Regions from separate parts of the Homo sapiens genome. Here region 1 is linked to region 2. Evidence: promoter capture Hi-C in 16 types of primary human blood cells and fetal thymus (Javierre and others, 2016). All regions are on one chromosome and are shown on one strand. Each heading gives the region's core, a stretch centred on a gene start or on the middle of the fragment in contact. The rest is flanking DNA. Distances are from core to core; before and after follow the strand shown. Region 1 has its middle 42 kb from the start of NUDT11. Region 2 holds the start of NUDT10 (nudix hydrolase 10).

Region 1 (5,803 bases), core at 2,573-5,072, 120 kb before region 2:
AAGACATTTTACTTCTTAGCTGCTAAAGGCAGAACTTTCCTGTTCACAGAAGTAGCTGAGAGCCTGATTTCTAGTGGTGCAAAAGGAAGCTCAGTGTTACTGTAAAAAATGTGCCTCATGAAGAGGATTTCTATTTTCACTAGGTGGTGATGTTGGCTTAGAAATACCATGAGCTCACCAGAGCTGCTGATCTTTCCTAACAGACCTGTTTCCCTGAACTGTAAAAATTCCTGCACATTTGACACACAGAGACAGTAAGAGACCCTGGATAGAGAAAGAAGGAAAGTTTGGTGACGGGATAGCAGGAAAAGAGCCTTGAGATTAAAGGACAGATTTGAGGTTGAGGTTCACTCCATACTCACCACTCCGATAAATGAATTCTTGCCCAATACACCAAAATGATACTACCTCAATGAATGTAGGAACGCCAGGGTCCTTGGTCTCACGCTGATGTAGATAAATGGACACACGTGGAGTGGTTTTAAAGAGTAGAGAGTTTAATAGGCAGGAAAGAAGGAAGAAGCTCCACCATACAGAGACAGAGGGAGGGGGGCTCCAAACGGAAAGAGAAAACCCCATGTGTGGCGGAAAAGTACTTGGTTATATTGGGAGACTAGAGGAGGTGGTGTTTGATTTGCATAGGGCCCAGGGGATTGGTTTGACCAGGTGTGTCATTTATGTAGCCCGTGAAAAACCTGGCCCTCCCACCATAGTCTTTTAATATGCAAATGTGGGCGGCCATGATAGCCTGTACATGCAGAGTTATCTGGAGGTGGCCATGACACTTGGCACATGTGGTGACAAGGAGAAGAGGGCGGGAATGGCCATATTGGTTGGACCTAGTTTCTAATCACCAGCATTCGCATGTCAGTGCTTGCTGGCCTGGTTTTTGCAAGTCGCCTTTCTGTTAGAAAAGAAGTGTTTCAGGAGCTGTTTCTATTAAAAGAAAAAGCCTTACCGAGAACTCCTTTAACCCTCTCTATCTGCCTAAAACTATTTCTTAATAACACCCGTATTTTTTTTTTTTTTTGAGACAGAGCTTTGCTCTGTCGCCCAGACTGGAGTGCAGTGGTGCAATCTCGGCTCACTGCAACCTTCACCTCCCAGGTTCAGTCAATTCTCCTGCCTCAGTCTCCCTAGTAGCTGGGATTACAGATGCATGCCACCACACCCAGCTAATTTTTGTGTTTTTAGTAGAGATGGGGTTTCACCATGTTGGCCAGGCTGGTCTTGAACTCCTGACCTCAAGTGAACCGCCCGCCTTGGCCTCCCAAAGTGCTGGGATTACAGGCATGAGCCACCATGCTCGGCCAATAACTCCTGTATTAAAATGAACTCACGAGTGGTGCTGAATAGTAGATCTGAGCTGGCAGAAGAATCAGCAAACTTAGATGTAACAGATTTTGCAATCTGAAGTTTAAACCAGAAATAAACCTCTTGGCCAAGGGGACCCCAGAGCAACCTGAAAAACTAAATTACAGGCCATGATGGGAAGGGAGGTCAGACATGCCTCATTATAACCCCTCCCTTTTGGAGTTTAGGCAAAACCGGCCAGAATTAATAAAATAGAGATATTAAGACTGACAGAACAGACTCTTTGGCAATAAGATACCAAATATCAACCTGACTCTGGTATAGCGTCACATGAAAGATAGTAGACCCTGAAGAAAATAAAAATATTTTACCCTAAAATGTTTTTTTTTGACATGTTTTGAAATGGCCCTGCAAAGCCATCTTTGGTGGAGGAAATTTTGCATGTGTAGAGAATCCCCATTAATACAGCTAGGCCTTTCCTGAATCTAGGAAAGATTAAGAGTCTGACACCTATTTTAAGGTTTGAAAAGAGACATTTACCATCTATTCCCTCTGAAGCCTGCTACCTGGGGACTTCATATACATAATAAGAACCTTGGTTTCCACAACTCCCCTTATCTTAACTCAATCATTTCTTTCTTTTCTTTTTTTTTTTTTTTTACTGATGTCAAGTCTTCAGCTTAACTCTTTCAACCAACTGCCGATCAGAAAATCTTTGAATCCATTTATGACCTGTAAGCTGTCCCCCTCAGTTTGAGATGTCCTGCTTTTCTGGGCTAAACCAATGTATACCTTATGTCTTTGCCTGTAACTTCTGTCTCTCTAAAATGTATAAAACCAAACCATAACCTGACTGCCTCAGGTGTACTTTCTCAGGACCTCCTGAGACTGTTCCCTGGGCCATGGTGACACATTGGCTCAGAATAAACTTATTGAAATATTTAACAGAGTTTTCTTTTTGGTCAAAAATTAGTCAAAAAGTACACTATTTTTAACTTTGCAATAATTGATATTTTATTGATTTCATTTTGCATCATGGCTGCATAAAGGCATTTGTAAAAAGCATTGGTGATATTCTCCTGATACAATGGAATTCCATCATCAACTTATTTTACAACTTCTTTCAATTGGTTTATAACTAGATCAACTGTTGATTTCTTAAATGAATGCCAAAAACTCTTTACATAATCCCTGAAGGAGTGAGAATTTCTTTAAACTTTTATTTAAAGTTTAGGGGTACATGTGCAGGTTTGTTACATAGGTAAACTTGTGTCCTGGGGGTTTGTTTTACAGATTATTTTATCACCCAGCTATTAAGCCTAGTACCCATTTGTTATTTTTCCTGATCCTCTCCCTTCTTCCACCCTCCATCGTCTACCCTCCAATAGGCCCCTCTGTGTGTTGTTCCCCTCTATGTGTCCATGTGTTTTCATCATTTAGCTCCCACTTATAAGTGAGAACACGTGGTATTTGGTCTTCTGTTCCTGTTTTGGATTGCCAAGAATAATGGTCTCCAGTTCCATCCATGTCCCTGCAAGGGACATGATCTCGTTCTTTATACTGGATGCATAGTATTCCATGGTATATATGTACCACATTTTCTTTATCCAGTCTATCATTGATGGGCATTTAGGTTGATTCCATGTCTTTGCTATTGTGAACAATGCTGCAATGAACATACATGTGCATGTGTCTTTATAATAGAATAATTTATATTCCTTTGGGTATATACCCAGTAATGGGATTGCTGGGTCAAATGGTATTTCTGTCTTTAGGTCTCTGAGGAATTTCCACAATGGTTGAACTGATTTACACTCCCACCAACAGTGTATAAGCATTCCTTTTTCTCCACCACCTCACCAGCATCCTTTTTTTTTTTTTAAACTAAAAAAGTACACTTAAATAAAAACTCACAAGAGGTGCTCAACAGCAGATCAGAGCTGGCAGAAGAAAGAATCAGTAAACTTAAAGATATAACAATAGATTTTGCAATCTGAAGAACAGACAGAAACAAGAATAAAGATAAAAGAGCATCAGAGAAATATGGGACACATGATAAACTCTTGATATTTGCAAGAGAAGAAGATCATATATAAGGTATCCTGCAATAAGAATAATAGGTGACTTTTCATCACAAATCATGGAAGACAGAAGGCAGTGGAATGACATATTCAAAGTGTTTAAGGAAAAAAAGCAACTAATAGTCTTATATACAACAAAATTATTTTTCAAAAGTGAAGGCAAAATACATACCCTGAAAAACAACAACAAAAAAGCTGAGATAATTTCATTGCCATCTGTGGTAGACAGAATATGGTCCACCAAAGATGTCCATGTCCTAATCCCAGTAACCTATGATTACAGAGGTTGGAGTGATGGACTTGAGGAAGGTTAGAAGGGGTCATGAGCCAAGGAATGCAGGTGATGTTTCGAAGCTGGAAAGGCAACAAAGCAAGTTTTCCTGTAGAGCCTCCAAAGACAGTACAGCCCTACTAACATTTTGATTTTGGCATAGTAAGATGAATGGACTTCTGACTTCCAGAACAATAAGATAATACATTTGTGTTGTTTTAAGCCACTAAGTTTGTGATAATTTGTTACAGAAGCCATAGGAAACTAACATACTAGCAGAGCTGTGCTGCTAGTATTTCCTATTCACAGGAAATACTAGAGAAAGTTCTTCAGGCTGAAAGAAAGGGACACTATAGAATAATTTAAATCTAAACATCAAAACAAAGAATCCTATTAAAAATAATTATGTAGATAAGTATAAAAGATTGTATCATTCCTTGTTTGTAAACTGAGTTAAGAACATATCGCGGCCAGGCGTGGTGGTTCATGCCTGTAATCTCAGCACTTTGGGAGGCCGAGGCAGGCAGATCACGAGGTCAGGAGATCAAGACCATCCTGGCCAACATGGTGAAACCCTGTCTCTACTTAAAATACAAAAATTAGCTGGGCGTGGTGACGCTTGCCTGTAGTCCCAGCTATTCGGGAGGCTGAGGCAGGAGAATTGCTTGAACCTGGGAAGTGGAGGTTGCAGTAAGCCGAGATTGCACCACTGCACTCCAGCCTGGTGACAGAGTGAGACTCCGTCAAAAAAAAAAAAAAAAGAACATATTGCATAAAAATCTATAAAATTATATACTTGACATATTACATATAGAAATACAATATATTTGACAATAACAGAACAAAAAAGGAGGTCAGACATGAAATATATTGGAGTAAAGAGATATCACCACACAATAACCTGACTTCATCAGGAGAAATACACAAAGACAGAAATGGTAAATAAGGTTAATATAAAAATGGTATAAATATATTTTTTTCTCCTTTATTCTCTTACCTTCTTTAAAAGACACACAATTATGTAAAGCAATAATTGTAATACTATATTGTTTTTTGTAATATGAATAGATGTAGTATATACAATATCGCAAAGGGGGTGGGAGGTACAGAAGCTATAAAGGAACTAAGATTTTCTATCTTATTGGAATTATTTGAAGTAGTTTAACTTGACATATAATCCATAAGTCAAAGCAACAACCAGGAAAATTGCTAAAAAATGTAGTGAAAACCATTAAAGAAATGAAAAAGTTACTCTAGAAAATAACTACTTAATATAAGACAGAAAAAAGGACTAGAGGAACACAAAAGACACAAAATATATAGAAACCAAAAGCACAATTGTAAACATAAATCAAAGCATATCAATAATAATATTAAATGTGAATCAATTAAACTATCCAATCAAAAGGCAGAGATTGTCTGATAGAAAAACAAGATCCAATCCTACTTATGGTGTCTACAAAAGACATACTTTGCTTTCAAAGATACAAATAGGTTGAAACTAAAAAGGCGGAAACCGATGTTGTGCGAAAACAGCCATAAGAGATCTGGAGGGGCTATGCTAATATCAGACAAAATAGTTTTTTGGTCAAAAATGTTGATAGCGATAAAAAGAGATATTTTATAATGATAAAATATCAATCCATTGGGAAAATATAACAATTATAAATGTGCATGCATATAACAGAAGAATCCCAAAATACATGAGGCAAAAGAAATGACATAATTGAAGAAATAAATATATGATTTAAAAAAATAGTTGAGAATTCCAATATCACACATTGAATAATGAATAAAATATCTAGGCAAAAGAACGGAGGTATAGAAAACTTGAATAATAATAATATAAACCAACTAAACTTAACACATATCTGTAAATCAATTTACAGCACAATAGAAGAATATACACTCTTCCTAAGTGCATGTATGAAACATTCTCTAGGAGAGTATATAAGCAAGGCCTTAAAATAACCCACAATAAACTTAGAATTATTGAAATTATATACATATGTCCTTCAACCACAGTAGAGTGAGATTAGAAATCAGTAGTAAAAGGAAAATTTGTAAATTCAAAAATATGTGGAAATTAATGTGCTCCTAAACAACCAGTGGGTTTTAGAATAAATCAAAAGGGAAA
Region 2 (6,360 bases), core at 262-2,761:
GTTGAGTATGGGAAATCAAATTCTGTGAATACAGTTTTTCTGATCAGATGCGTTTGGCTAGCAGATCCCCAGCAGCATCTATTCAGTAAGGTTAATCTACATGGGAAATAGCGATTTAAAGTCAGCAGTGAAAAATTACTTGTGAAAATTTTTTGAAAACCAAATGACCTACATAGAAATAGAAAAAGAAATTTCTGAAAGGGGCAAATGAGATACCACTTCAGAGGCTAGAGCGACTGTCGAGTGCAGAAAGAGCACAAGATGTAGGATTTCCTAATGTTTTTACGAATTCAAAACTGATTTTTTAAACCAACTCCCACCACAGAAGGCCTCCCTGACAACAAGGGCGAACGCTGTGAAGGAGAAAACAACTCAAGGGAAAAAAATACTAAAAGATGCCACACAACCAAGCTGGTCAGACTTTAAAGGCCTCCACTACCAAACAAACCACAAGGCTGGTATCAAAAATGTGCACGCACCCACGAATATGTGTGAAATATAAAAGAACCAAAAACATCACAGGGCGCACAGGCAGACACACACACTCCCCGCCCACCCCTCGCCCCCCACCCCCCCCCCCCCCGCCCAAAAGCAGGGTGAACAGTTACAGCACCTAAAACCCCAAGCGGCATAGGCTTCTCCGAAACATTTTACAGGGTAACCAAGAAGCGATTTTGAAAGCAACTGAAAAACGTGCCAACTGAAAACAGGGCCTGGCAACAGTTTGCAAGCGTGATTCAGAGGGTCTGCCAAGGAAACAAAAGCCTCCCTCCTGCCCATGAGACCGCACATGGTACGAGAGGTGCTCCAGGCGGGATGCATTTTAAGCAAGGCAGACAAACAGAAGTCTGTGCGGGCGCAAGCGGTACATACTAGGGATCGCTATCTGGCGAGGATGGGGCCATGGAGTTTCCATTGGTTGGGGAACCGCCCAGCTTTAGTTTCTCCAGATATTCGGCGTGCACGGGCTTGTGGCACTGGAGAACCTTGATGGCATCTTCGACTTTGAACCACTCTCGCTTCCTCCCAATGCTAACCGAATCTTCCCAATCCTCCAGCAGCTCCGTGACAGTCAGTACATACACGTACGTTCTGTGCTTGGGGTCCTGGTTCTGTTCGAAGACGCCCAGGAGCCGGCCTAACTTCCCCTTGACTCCCGCCTCTTCGTACACCTCTCGGACCGCCGCACCGCCCGGCTCCTCCTCGGGCTCCATGCCCCCGCCCGGCACGATCCAGCGGTCCGGGTACCGGCTGCTACTCACTAACAGGACCTCGTCCTCGCGCTCGCTCCGGAAGCACAGGCACGCCGCCCGCTTCTTGAACCCCTCGGGGTCGTAGGTCCGTGTCTGGTTGGGTTTGCACTTCATCCTCGAGGCAGCCTCCTCTCGCCTCTCGCTGCTGTGTGGGCCGCCGACGCAGCTGCTGCCGCTGCCGGGCAGCAGCCGAGGTGCTGGGAAGAGAAAGGGCCGAGGAGAGGGGCGGGGAGAGAGAGGCGCCTCCGTCTGCCGTCTGCCCCCGAGCCCGGGGAGCGGAGGGAGAGATGAAGCTGGGCGGGGCACGGGCGGAGGCGGGGGCAAGCGAGGCGTGTCAGTCAGCCAGTCCGCCAGTCCGATGGGCGGCCGGCCGAACCCGGGCCCGCCGGAGTGGAGGAGGCGCTGCTGCCCGCGAGCCCGCGACTCTCCACAGAGCCCACCCGCTTCTGCGAGGTGAAGCGCATTCTCGGGCGCGTCCGCGCTCCCGTTCACGTGCGCGTTCGCAGGGGAGGGCGTGGGCTGAGGGGCGAGGAACCGGGGCGAGGGGCCAGGGGCGGGGGTCTCCTGGCTCCCGCAGCGCGCAACGCCTGGGGCCCACTGCGCAGGCGCTTCGCACTCCTGGGGCCAGGAACCTCCTTGGCGCACAGCGAAATTCACCGCATTGTGACTTTGGCCAAGACTGCCTCCATGTGTGCCTTTGACCCAAACTCACTGTGGCACGGCAGGACGTTTCTCCTCTCACTCCCCACTGCGCTGCAGGAAACCCACAGGCAGTTGTTTCACACAAGACAGGGGCAAAGGCAGCGTCGTCATCATCCTCCCCCACTATCAACCATTCTGGCTTACTCATGGGACCTGGGCCCTAGTGTTGTCTGCACAACCCACGGGATTCTTGGCACAGTAGCCGGGCATCTTTGCTGAGTCACATGATGCAGTTTTATTTCTTCAACAGGTTCCCACCTTGCAGAGCATCTTGGCGCAGCCAGTAATTTAACGCTTTTCTTAAACCCCTGTTCACAACCTGCCTGACCTCCCTGCACCTCAGTTTCCTCATGGGTACACTCCTCGCCTCCGTGTTGCAGCCATTTGCACTTCGATGCAGTACACCTTAAAGACCAGAGCACCACCCATCTAGTAGTCCTGCGTTAAAGCCCAGAGACGTTCTCCTATTCTCCACACACTCCACCCTTCTCTATCTTTCTCTTTGATAAGCACCACTTGGTGTTTGGGAAACCATGCACATGGAGATCCCGTCCTATTTCACAATTTTATTTTATTTTATTTTTTGAGATGGAGTCTCACTCTGTCGCTCTGTCGCCCAGGCTGGAGTGCCGTGGCACGATCTTAGCTCACTGCAACCTTCGCCTCCTGGGTTCAAGCGATCCTCCTGCCTCAGCCTCCTGAGTAGCTGGGATTACAGGCGGGTGCCATCACGCCTGGCTAATTTTTGTAGCTTTAGAAGAGACGGGTTTCACCATGTTGGTCAGGCTGCTCTTGAACTCCTAACCTCGCGATCCGCCCACCTCGGCCTCCCAAAGTGTACTATTAACCACCACAAAACAAATAAAATACTAAGGGGTCCTAAAAATGTGGTTAGGACTTAGTAGTACAAAATGGTTGAACTTCTACTCAGAGCTTTGAAACATGATTTGAATGAATCACGAGACACTCTAGCAAAACTAGCAGACTAGTGGGGTGTCTGGGTTCGAGAGGGGCCAATCCAGGCTCCGGCCACAGGGCAGGGCTGCTTCACAATTGCCAGGTACTGTCTCCTTTGTCTCACAAGAAAGAGGTGCCATTTTCTAGTCTATTCCATCAGTATCAGTTCTACATCACACCGTGCCTCTGCAATAGGTCCCTTCCGGGGGCATACTTGTGGCAGGGAAGAGGAATAGGACATTATAACATGGAAAGAGGCACAGACTGAAACCCTACTGGAAAAGTCTGGATATGGAGACCCACAACTTAAAACAGGCTTAATACAATAGCAAGGGAATTTTTTAATTACCTTTTCCCCAAACTTTCACAGCTGACATAGTTTGGATACTTGTCCTTGCCCAAATCTCATGTTAAATTGTAATCCCCAATGGTGGAAGTGGGGCCTGGTGGGAGATGTTTGGATCATGAGGGCGGATCCCTCATGGCTTGGTGCTGTCTGTGTGATAGTGAGTGCTCACAAGATCTGGTGACTTAAAAGCAAGTGGCACCTTCCCCTGTCTTGCTCATGCTTTCGCTATGTGATGCATCTACTCCCCCTCTGCCTTCTGCCACCATTGTAAGCTTCCTGAGGCGACCCCAGAAGCTGAGCAACTGTTGGCACCATGCTTCCTGTAAAACCTGCAGAACCATGAGCCAATTAAACCTCTTTTCTTTGTAAATTACCCAGTCTCAGGTATTTCTTTATAGCAATGTGAGAATGGCCTAATAACTTTATTATTCATCTATAATATAGTAACAAGGCAAGAAAAGCTAAGACTTTTGTAACGATAGTAAAAATCCTTTTTAAGAGAACAGCATTCCTCTGTCTGGTTTTGCATATTTAAGTATTTCTCCAATGATGAGCAGTGTAATTCAGGAATCACTGTAGTAGTAGATTGTTACAGTGAAACTGCAATTTGTTCGTGGAAGCCTGTATCTCCTTCCACACTGTCATTGTTTCTGGTCTTGGCCATGTAATTTGTTGTGTCCAGTGGGACAATAACAAATGTGAACAGAAGTCAGCAGAGAACTGAAAGGTGCTTGCACACTGGGGTATCCTCTCTCTTTTCGCTCTTGAAACATTGTGACAGCAATGTGAGGAAGGCTGGCCAGGCTAGCTGGATGATGAGATACCTGTGGCAGATTCTTCCCTTTCACCCCAGCTGACAGTGAAACCGTTGCCCAACATATGGGTGAGGCCATCCTAGACCATTCGCCCACAAGCAGAACTACTTAGGTCATAAGAGAGCACTAGCTGAAGATGCATAACTAAGCCTAGCCATGAACAGCAAAAAAAAAAAAAAAAAAGCAAACAAACAAACAAGAAAACCCACTCAGATGGGACCAGCTGAAATTATTGACCTGCAGAATTGTGAGTAAAATAGTTTACTGTTTAAAGCATAAAATTTGGCAGCGCTTTGTTATGCATTAAAAACTAGCTGCTCCAACCATTGACATGATACATAAAAATCAACCAAAAACAATCAGAGAAAGACAAGATTGTTCGCTGTAGAAATGTAACATCTACTTAAAAATGCTGGCATTTCACTTTCCCTGGAGTCAGAAAGGGATGAAGTTAAGACATCTAACGTGTTGAGTACAGTCCCTGTGAGAGGTCCTGTGTTACGCCCTGCATTCTATTTAACTGTTATCTCATTAACTCATAGGGAGGGAGGCAGTTCATAAGTCCATTTTACAGAAGAGAAAATGAGGACTTAGAGTGGATTTTGTATTCGAGTTTAAGGCTTCATGTCTCCATACCCTGCACACTCAAAAAATCAACATGTCTTAAGAGAAGGATTCTTCTTATCCACAGCTATGGTTGTTGCGGCCTTTGTTGATGACATTCAGCATTGACTTCTTGGGTAAGGTATTCAGTAGTTAAGATTCAATGACTCCAGTGAAAGGTATGTTTCCATCGTGATGTTCTTCTTCTGGACAATAAGTGAAAAGAGCATGTGAGTACCTCTCTCACTCCCAGCAAATAATTGTTGTGTCACCTCCACATGTTTCTTCACGATTCGAGGCTTTGATTTCCCCTGCAAGACAAAATGCAATGAAGTGATACAGAAAAAAAGAAATTCTATGCTGTCATCACACTAGACCATGATGTTGATTTATGGATGGTCTGCTTTCTTATATGCACTTAATATTTTTGTACAAGCAAACCTGAAAAGTGTCAAAATCCCCTTTAACAGATTAACAGGCTGAGATGGGTTAAAGTGAGCAAGCCGGGAAGTGGTGGAGCTGGGATCCACACCCTGGTCTGTCTGAGTCCAGATGTAATCATCTTGCATTCACTATGGCATGTTTCCCTTATGTTAAGGGTTGCTGACATAGACAGTGCATGTCATTCCTTTTGGTATGGTCTTCCTCCTTTCTAGCTTTTTTCTGCCTGGAAGATCCAGGCACCCAAGAGAATGGAGCTTCCATGTAAATTTGCAGAATCCCTAGGATGAAAGCGGAGAGGATCTACCCTGAAACCAACAAGTCTAGGATGCACATCTCTGCCTTTTTTTCAGAATTAGGAAGGGGCAGGCAGATGGGCAATTGACAGGAATAGTAGAAGCATCCTCGGGGAAGTTGGCTACTTTACTTAGTGAGAAAGCAATGGAAAGTGACATTTGTAACTGAGTTTTAAGTGAAGTACAGTCCTAAGAGAGGAGCTCTGAAAAACAGCTGTTACCTGAGATTGGGAATGTTAAAGACCTTCTCAGAGCCTGACTGTACTCACAGCTGGACCTAGCTATCAGAAGAGGGACTGCAACATACCTGAGAAACTTTCAGAATACTTAACGGAAGCAGAGTCAGGGGAAGTGATTTTGATAGTAGTCCATGAGAAAAAAATACGGTGTTTTAAAATGCAAATGAACTAAAATTTAAATCCTGCTCTCTCAGTAGCTATGCAGCCTTAGGCGAGTTAATATCTTTGACCTTAGTATTTCTCAGGTGTAAAGAGGGATAATTACCTACTCAGAACTTCACCTCTCCCAAGAAAGCTTTCCTGACCATGTGCTGGCCCTTCCTTTACATTGGGATTAAAGTACCCCCCCCCGTTTTTCCAGGCTTTCTTGACTTTAATTCTGTCATAGCTCTAATTAAGAACCTCTGTAATGATCTGTCTGCAAGCTTGTGAGAAATTTGAGGACTGGGAACCAGCCTGAAACATGTCTGTTCCCCTCTGAGTCAACACAGTGCCTGGGATCTGGTGTCCAGTAGGGATTTAAAGCATATTGATTGAATGAGAAATGATGACAGGATCTACATGGATCACAAAGGATAGTTGTTATTTTACCTGTTAACTATTTAATAGCGAAATTAAATGAAATATGAATTAACCTAGGACCAGGGAAGGTGGGGTAAGTTGTGTCTTTCACATCAACCTTCATATGTTCCCCAATTTTTTCTT

Evidence for each region. Contacts are between HindIII fragments. The CHiCAGO score rates a contact against its expected background, and 5 or more counts as called.
Region 1: a fragment that was not itself captured here is called in contact with the fragment with the promoter of NUDT10 in region 2 in 3 of 17 cell types (naive CD4 T cells, non-activated CD4 T cells and fetal thymus); the score reaches 8.0 in naive CD4 T cells.

The regions. Positions count from the first base shown.
Region 1 is chrX:51,451,366-51,457,168 of GRCh38, reverse strand. No RefSeq gene overlaps it. Among named protein-coding and RNA genes, the nearest start is that of NUDT11, 42 kb to the left of the region's middle. The HindIII fragment of the contact is 9,447 bases long and covers 1-5,803 here.
Region 2 is chrX:51,327,973-51,334,332 of GRCh38, reverse strand. NUDT10 (nudix hydrolase 10) reads right to left here and starts at 1,511. Exons shown (of 2, transcript NM_001304963.2): 1 at 874-1,511. The coding sequence starts at 1,367. LOC105373204 (a long non-coding RNA gene) reads left to right here. Exons shown (of 7, transcript XR_007068239.1): 5 at 4,768-6,360. The HindIII fragment of the contact is 9,034 bases long and covers 1-3,535 here.